Linked DNA regions of Homo sapiens: region 2 is linked to region 1. The links are contacts of gene promoters, found by promoter capture Hi-C in blood cells and fetal thymus (Javierre and others, 2016). All regions are on one chromosome and are shown on one strand. Each heading gives the region's core, a stretch centred on a gene start or on the middle of the fragment in contact. The rest is flanking DNA. Distances are from core to core; before and after follow the strand shown.

Region 1 (3,783 bases), core at 946-3,445:
ATGGGGGCGCATGCCTGTAATCCCAGCTACGCGGGAGGCTGAGGCAGGATAATTGCCTGAACCCAGGAGGCAGAGGTTGTGGTGAGCCGAGATTGCGCCACTGCACTCCAGCCTGGGCAACAAGAGCGAAACTCGGTCTCAAAAAAAATTAAAAAAACAAATAAATAAAAATAAATTAGAGAAAGTAACCCCTGGCTAGTAAAATCAGACACTGCTGAAGTGTCCCCAAAAGACTGAAAGTCTCCCAGCCAGGAAGATCCAGCCTGAAGGTATGTACATACCTAGAGGGAGAATGGGCCCATGGAAATGAGCGTCAGCCTGGAGGTAAAGAAAAGGAGTGTCCAGGGGGAAGCTGAATTTGGCCGTCAGCTTGGAGGACAAGCTGGGCCATGGGCTGGGCATCCTTCCATGGGTCCAGAGCAGGCACTCAGCACTGCATATAGATGGAAATACCGAGCAAACGCCCGGGGAAGGGGATCCTTGTGGGTGGGCTGACCCTTCTCAAACAGGGAAGCTTACCTGCCTTGCCCAGGGCAAGGCTTCCAAAATCACTCAACCAGCCCTGGATAAGATCGCATGCTCTGAGCAATCCTAAGATTACAATTTGGCTTCCATGAGGCTTTCCCATAGGGAGAGGAGGCTCTGCTCAGGCACACCTGAGTTTTCAGACCCACTGCCATTATATTTCCCCACCACAAACTGCACATATGCCTTCTGACCTATACGTCAGTCTCTTGTGAGTTTGGTTACTGTGTGCCAGGCTTTGAGAGAGGATCCTCTCAGGCAGACAAGTATTTGGAGGCCTATCTAGGTACAGCCCTGAAATGAGAGCACATGTCCATCAGAGACATGGAGAGAATGTTCAGGAAGCCAGGCACAGTGGCACACATCTGTAATCTCAGCGCTAGCACTTTTGCAGGCGGAGGTGGGAGGATCACTTGAGCCCAGGAGTTCGAGACCAGCCTGGGGCAACATAATGAGACCCTGTCTCTGCAAGACATTTTTAAAAACATTAGCCAGGCATGGTGGCACATGCCTATAGTCCCAGCTACTCAGGAGGCTGAGGTGGGAGGATGGTTTGAGCCCAGAAGTTGGAGGCTGCAGTGAGCTGTGATTGCACCACTGCACTCCAGCCTGGGCAACAGAATGAGACCATATCTAAAAAAAAAAAAAAAAAAAATGTTCAGCACAGTTTTATTCACAAGAAACCCAAATGCCTATCAACAAAAGAGTGGGGGCCGGGATGGTGGCTCACACTTGTAATCCCAGCACTTTGGGAGGCCGAGACAGGTAGACCACCTGAGGTCAGTATTTTGAGACCAGCCTGGCCAACATGGTGAAACTCCGTCTCTACTAAAATACAAAAATTAGCCAGGCGTGGTGGCGGGTGCCTGTAATCCCAGCAACTCTGGAGGCTGAGGCAGGAGAATCGCTTGAACCCAAGAAACGGAGGTTGCAGTTAGCCAGGATCGTGCCACTACACTCCAGCCTGGGCGACAGAGCAAGACTCCATCTCAAAAAACAAAACCAAACAAAACAACAAAAGAGTGGGAAACAAGCTGTGGTACGTTCATATGCTGGAACACTATACAGCAATGAAAAAGAGGGAACCATTGCCACATCCAATAACAAGGACGAACTGGCCGGATATTGAGTAAAAGGGGCCAGACTTCAAGAAGAGACAAAATGAACAGATATCACAAGAGTGATTAGCTCCAGACAGTACCAAGTGAAAAGAGGCGACTTCTGGCGTGATGGCAATGCTCTACCTTTTGACCCAAGTAGTGACTGCACAGTTGCATACACTGTGCACTGAAGATCTCTACACTTGCAGCACTTGACTGTCAAATGTAACTTGGCTGAAAGTGTGATTTGAATGTAACGATGAAAAGTGTAGCAGTCTTCAAGGGCCACGGCTCAGACCCTAATCAAAGGCAGAGTCCAGCTGGGGCAGCCCCCCAGATCTCCCATAATGTGATGGCTTAAAAAATACACTTGGCCAGGCACAGTGGCTCACACCTGTCATGCCAGCATTTTGGGAGGCTGCGGTGGGCGGATTGCTTGAGGCCAGGAGTTTGAGACCAGCCTGGGTAACATGGTGAAACCCAGTCTCTACAATAAAGGTTTTAAAACATTAGCAGCCCATGGCTCACACCTGTAACCTCAGCACTTTGGGAGGCCGAGGTGGGTAGATCGCTTGAGCTTAGGAGTTTGAGACCAGCCTGGGCAACATGGTGAAACCCAGTCTCTACAATAAAGGTTTTAAAACATTAGCAGCCCATGGCTCACACCTGTAACCTCAGCACTTTGGGAGGCCGAGGTGGGTAGATCGCTTGAGCTTAGGAGTTTGAGACCAGCCTGGGCAACATGGTGAAACCCAGTCTCTACAATAAAGGTTTTAAAACATTAGCAGCCCATGGCTCACACCTGTAACCTCAGCACTTTGGGAGGCCGAGGTGGGTAGATCGCTTGAGCTTAGGAGTTTGAGAACAGCCTGGGCAACATGTCAAAATTCTGTCTCTACAAAAAAATACAAAAAATTAGCTAGGCGTGGTGGCGTATGCCTGTAGTTCCAGCTACTTGGGAGACTGAGGTGGGAGGATCGCTTGAGCCCAGGAGGTTGAGGAAGCAGTGAGCTGAGATCTCACAACTGCACTCCAGCGTGGGCAACAGACCTTGTCTCAAAAGAAAAAAAAAAATTAGTTGCACATGGTGATGCGCGCCTGTACTTCCAACTACTCAGGTGGCTGAGGCAGGAGGATCGCTGAGCCCAGCAGTTTAAGGGTGCAGCTAGCTATGATTACACCACTGCACTTCAGCCTGAGCAACTGAGCGAGACCCTGTCTCGAAAAAAATTTAAATTAATTTTAAAAATTTTGGCCGGCCACAGTGGCTCACGACTGTAATCCCAGCACTTTGGGAGGCTGAGGCGGGCAGATCACGAGGTCAGGAGATTGAGACCATCCTGGCTAACACAGTGAAACCCTGTCTCTACTAAAGAATACAAAAAATTATCTGGGCATGGTGACGGGCACCTGTAATCCCAGCTATTCGGGAGGCTGAGGCAGGAGAATGGCATGAACCCAGGAGGAGGAGCTTGCAATGAACCAAGGTCGCGCCACTGCACTCCAGCCTGGGTGACAGAGCAAGACTCCATCTCAAAAAAAAAAAATTTAAGAAAATTGGCCAGGCCCAGTGACTCACGCCTGTAACCCCAGCACTCCGGGAGGCCGAGACGGGCAGATCACGAGGTCCGGAGATCAAGACCATCCTGACTAACACGATGAAATCCTATCTCCACCAAAAACACAAAAAAATTAGCCGGGCGTGATGGCACGCGTCTGTAATCCCAGCTACTGGGGAGGCTGAGGCAGGAAAATCACTTGAACCCCGGAGGCGGAGGTTGCAGTGAGCTGAGATCACACCACTGCACTCCAGCCTGGGCAACAGAATAAGTCTTCATCTAAAAAACAAACAAACAAACAAACAAACAAACAAAAATTAGCCGGGTATAGTGGTGGGTGCCTGTAATCCCAGCTACTCAGGAGGCTGAGGCAGGAGAATCACTTGAACCCGGGAAGCAGAGGTTGCAGTGACATCACACCACTGCACTCCAGCCTGGACAAAAAGAGTGAAACTGTCTCAAAAAAAAATTTTTTTAAGAAAATAAAAACACACCTTCAAATTCTTTGAGATTCTTTCTTTCAAGAGGTAGAGCCTAATTTCCCTCTCCTGGAGTATGGCCAGACTCCCTGACTCGATTCTGACCCCTAGAATAAAGCA
Region 2 (3,783 bases), core at 567-3,066, 490 kb before region 1:
AAAGAAAATTAAGCTAGTACACAACACCACATCTATCCCGTTACTTCTATTTCATGAATTCTACTACAATGAGGTAGTAAACTGTAGCTAATACAATAATGGGCCGGGCACGATGGCTCACGCCTGTAATCCCAGTACTTGGGAGGCCGAGGAGAGGAGGGTGGTTCACCTGAGGTCAGGAGTTCGAGACCAGCCTGGCCAACGTGGTGAAACCCCGTTTCTACTAAAAATACAAAAAATTAGCTGGGCCTGGTGGCGGATGTCTATAATCCCAGCTACTCGGGAGGCTGACGCAGGAGAATCATTTGAACCCAGGAGGCGGAGGGTGCAGTGAGCCGAGACTGCGCCACTGTACTCCAGTTTAGGTAGCAAAAACGAAACTCCGTCTCAAAAAAAAATAGCCGCGCATGGTGGAGAGCGCCTGTAATCCCAGCTACCCGGGAGGATGAGGCAGAAGAATTGCTTGAACCCAGGAAGCGGAGGTTGCAATCAGCCGAGATCGCGCCATTGCACTCCAGCCTGGGTGACCAGAGCAAAACTCCGTCTCAAAAAATAATAATAAAACAATGTGCTGGACTACTGCAATACTGAGATCCTTCTCAGCCAAGTGTTTACAGGTGTTAGAGCGGCAACAGGAATTTCTGGAGTACAAGCTAATCTCTGTGGGAATGGAAAAAAAAAAGCACTAATTTGAATTTCAGTACCTATGTTGCAATGCTAAATTCTTGACAGGGATTAGTACTCCGTAGGTTATGCTTCTTAAATCTCCAAAAGTAAGCCAATATGTGAAATCGTACATTTTTGGTCCGTTATTCTAAGACTGACAAAACGTTCCATTGCTTCGTATTTGAATTTGAGAACTGAGACTCATTTAAAAATTCTTCACTGTTCTTTTCCTTTTTGCTCTTCGATTTCGCAAGTGAAACGGTCATTTCAACAGCACACACATTACACTAGAATAAAGCCAAGTAAAATGACAGACTAAATCAGATCCGTGAATACACGGTGACTCCTTATTTGGTTTTTAATACTTTCACTATGTTTCATGTCTTCGGGAAAGCAAAAGAACAACGTACTGTGCCAAAAGCACTAACTTACGAAAAACCAATTTAGACCAATTCTTTACAGCGTTAAGTATGGGTTGAAAACCAACTTTCCTAATACTTGTGGTCAGTGCCTCAAGGTCGTTAGGATAAAAATAAAGCTTCCAAGACACTTCGCAGCCTTCCAGCACTTCCAGAAAGGCCAAATAAACCAGCATTCACCTTCCCGCTCCATCCAGGCCCCGATTCTCCGACCAGAGAGGGCGCTGAGTGCCCGGGCACGGAGGGGCAGCGCCCTGGGGCGCCCGGCTCTGCCCAGGGCGGGGCTCGGCGGGGCCGAAGCTCCGGACGCCGCCCACGGGGACCACCGGCCCTTGGGCCGCCCAGGGGCAGCTGCAGCCCAGGGGAGGAGCTGGAGGAGCCCCCGGCGGCACCAGGGCCCGAGCCCTGACGGCGGCCGCCCCCGGCCGAAAAGTAAGGAAGGTGCCGCCCTCGCTGGACCAGCTGGGCCCGAAGAGGGGCCCCCCCACCACAAATTCGGAAACCGAGTGACCCCGGCGAGGGACGCGCGGTCCCAGCCCCGGGACGAGGAAGGGCGGCGGCGCGGGCGGGGGTTCTTTTCAGAACTACAGCAGGGAAGGCGGCGGGGGTGGCCGCGGGGCGATCCAGGGAAAATCGGCGCCTCACCTGCTCCTCTTGAGGCAGCTGCTGCCACTCGCTGAGGGGACAACATGGAGCCTCCGCCTTCAAAGCAGAAGCAGCAGGGGTGCAGAGGAGAGGGACGGGTGCGGGCGGGAACGAACCGGGCCCTGGAAGCGGGAAACGGGCGGAGCCTGGGCTCTAGAAAAAACTAGCCAGAAGGTGGGGCACGCGGAGCCGCGACGGAGCGAGCGCAGCGCGGTCTGCGTGGCCCAACGGACAGCCCGAGGCGTGGCGAGCGCAGGACGAGGCTAGGCGAGGCGGGGCGGGAAAGCGCACGCGGCAGAATCCCGCCACCGCCTGCCGCGTGTGCGCGAAGCGAGCCGCCGGGTACCTGTTGGCGGGGCGCTGAGTGCTACCGTCCTTTGGGAATTGTAGTCCCGCGCTCACTGGGTCCCGGCCAGCGGTCCTCATACTGCGCACTCATCTGGGGCGGGGCTTGGCGTGGTTCTCCGACGACTGAACTACAACTCCCAGCAGGCTGTGCGGGAAGGGGCGGGCTGGCTCGGGTCCTCCTGCGAGCTGCGGCCGGCGCCTAACGTGCAGACCAGGCCCCAGGCCGAGGCTTTATCCTGGAACCACCAGTGTGAGAGACAGCTTTGGTGTTTAACTAGGCCTGGGACCACAGGTGGGCAGAAGAGAGGCCTCAACCCTGGATGGCATGAACGTCACTGGGTCTTTAATGATTTTGACTTCATAAGGGCAGGTGGCCGTGACTTCATTACCACCTTTATTATCATCTCCCTATATTCCTGTCCCTGGCCATGGCTGATGCGCACCATCACCGCTCTGATAGCTAATGTAAGAAGTCCAGGCCGGGCGCCGTGCCTCACGCCTGTAATCCCAGCACTTTGGGAGGCCGAGGCGGGTGGATCACCTGAGGTCGTGGGCGTTCGAGACCAGCCTGACCAACATGGAGAATCCCCGTCTCTACTAAAAATACGAAATTAGCCAGGCGTAGTGGCGCACGCTTGTAATCCCAGCTAGTCCAGAGGCTGAACAGGAGAATCGCTTGAACCCAGGAGGCGGAGGTTGCAGTGAGCCGAGATCGCACCATTGCACACCAGCGTAGGCAACAGGAGCAAAACTCCATCAAAAAAAAAAAAAAAAAACTTGCACGCACATCCCAGCATTCTCTGCTCCTTTTCCCTGCATTACTTTTCTCCAAAAGACTTCATACCACTTGGCCAGGCGCGGTGGCTCACGCCTGTAATCCCAGCACTTTGGGAGGCTGAGGTGGTTGGATCACCTGAGGTCGGGAGTTCAAGACCAGCCAGGCTAACATGGTGAAACCCCATCTCTTCTAAAAATACAAAAAATTAACCAGGCGTGGTGGCAGGCGCCTGTAATCCCAGCTACTCGGGAGGCTGAGGCAGGAGAGGTTGCATTGAGTGGAGATGGCACCACTGCACTCCAGCCTGGGAGAAAGAGCAAGACTCCATCTCAAAAAAAAAAAAAAAAAAAAAGACTTCCTGCTACTATCTGACTTATGTTTTACCTTTCATTGTGTTTGTCTCTTCCCACTGAATGTAAGTTCCAAACAGATAGGAATTTTTGTCTGTTTTGTTTACTTGTATATCCCCAGTCCCTAAATACTGCTGGCAGATAATAGAGACTCAAATATCTATTGAATTAATGGATGAAGAAGATATATGTTACATCTAACACTGCTCACTCACTTTCTGGTTCCTTTAATATTAAATACCTAACTTTTACTATTGAACAAAATACCCTAGTTTATTTTAAGGGCTCCCCAGAGATTCACTGAAATCCAACTTCTCAGGAAGTGACCAGCAAATACTGATATATGTCTCAATATTACATCATCAAGGTATCAAGGTCAATGTTAGCACATCAGCATTGTAGCCCTTGTAGAAGCTTTTGGCATTTGGAACAAAACAGTACAAATTATAGGTGGACTTAAGGATTAGTCACAACTTAGAAAGCAACCCCTGTAAATGAGAAACATGTTTTGTGTTATTTCCTTCTCAAATATCCAGGGTCATCAAAACACTGGACATTGAAAGTGCCAAATATTGAC

The links. The method cuts DNA at HindIII sites, captures the fragments that hold promoters and counts their contacts. A CHiCAGO score of 5 or more calls a contact.
Region 2: the fragment with the promoter of ATL3 here is called in contact with a fragment that was not itself captured in region 1 in 1 of 17 cell types (total B cells); the score reaches 5.2 in total B cells.

What each region holds. Positions count from the first base shown.
Region 1 is chr11:64,159,655-64,163,437 of GRCh38, forward strand. All of the region lies in intron 1 of MACROD1 (mono-ADP ribosylhydrolase 1), which reads right to left. Among named protein-coding and RNA genes, the nearest start is that of MACROD1, 4.6 kb to the right of the region's middle. The HindIII fragment of the contact is 3,366 bases long and covers 513-3,783 here.
Region 2 is chr11:63,669,560-63,673,342 of GRCh38, forward strand. It overlaps ATL3 (atlastin GTPase 3), which reads right to left and starts at 1,817. Exons shown (of 13, transcript NM_015459.5): 1 at 1,731-1,817. The coding sequence starts at 1,776. RefSeq lists enhancers at 1,182-1,683, 1,684-2,183, 2,224-2,333 and silencers at 1,344-1,603, 1,634-1,693, 2,014-2,133. The HindIII fragment of the contact is 2,416 bases long and covers 1,203-3,618 here.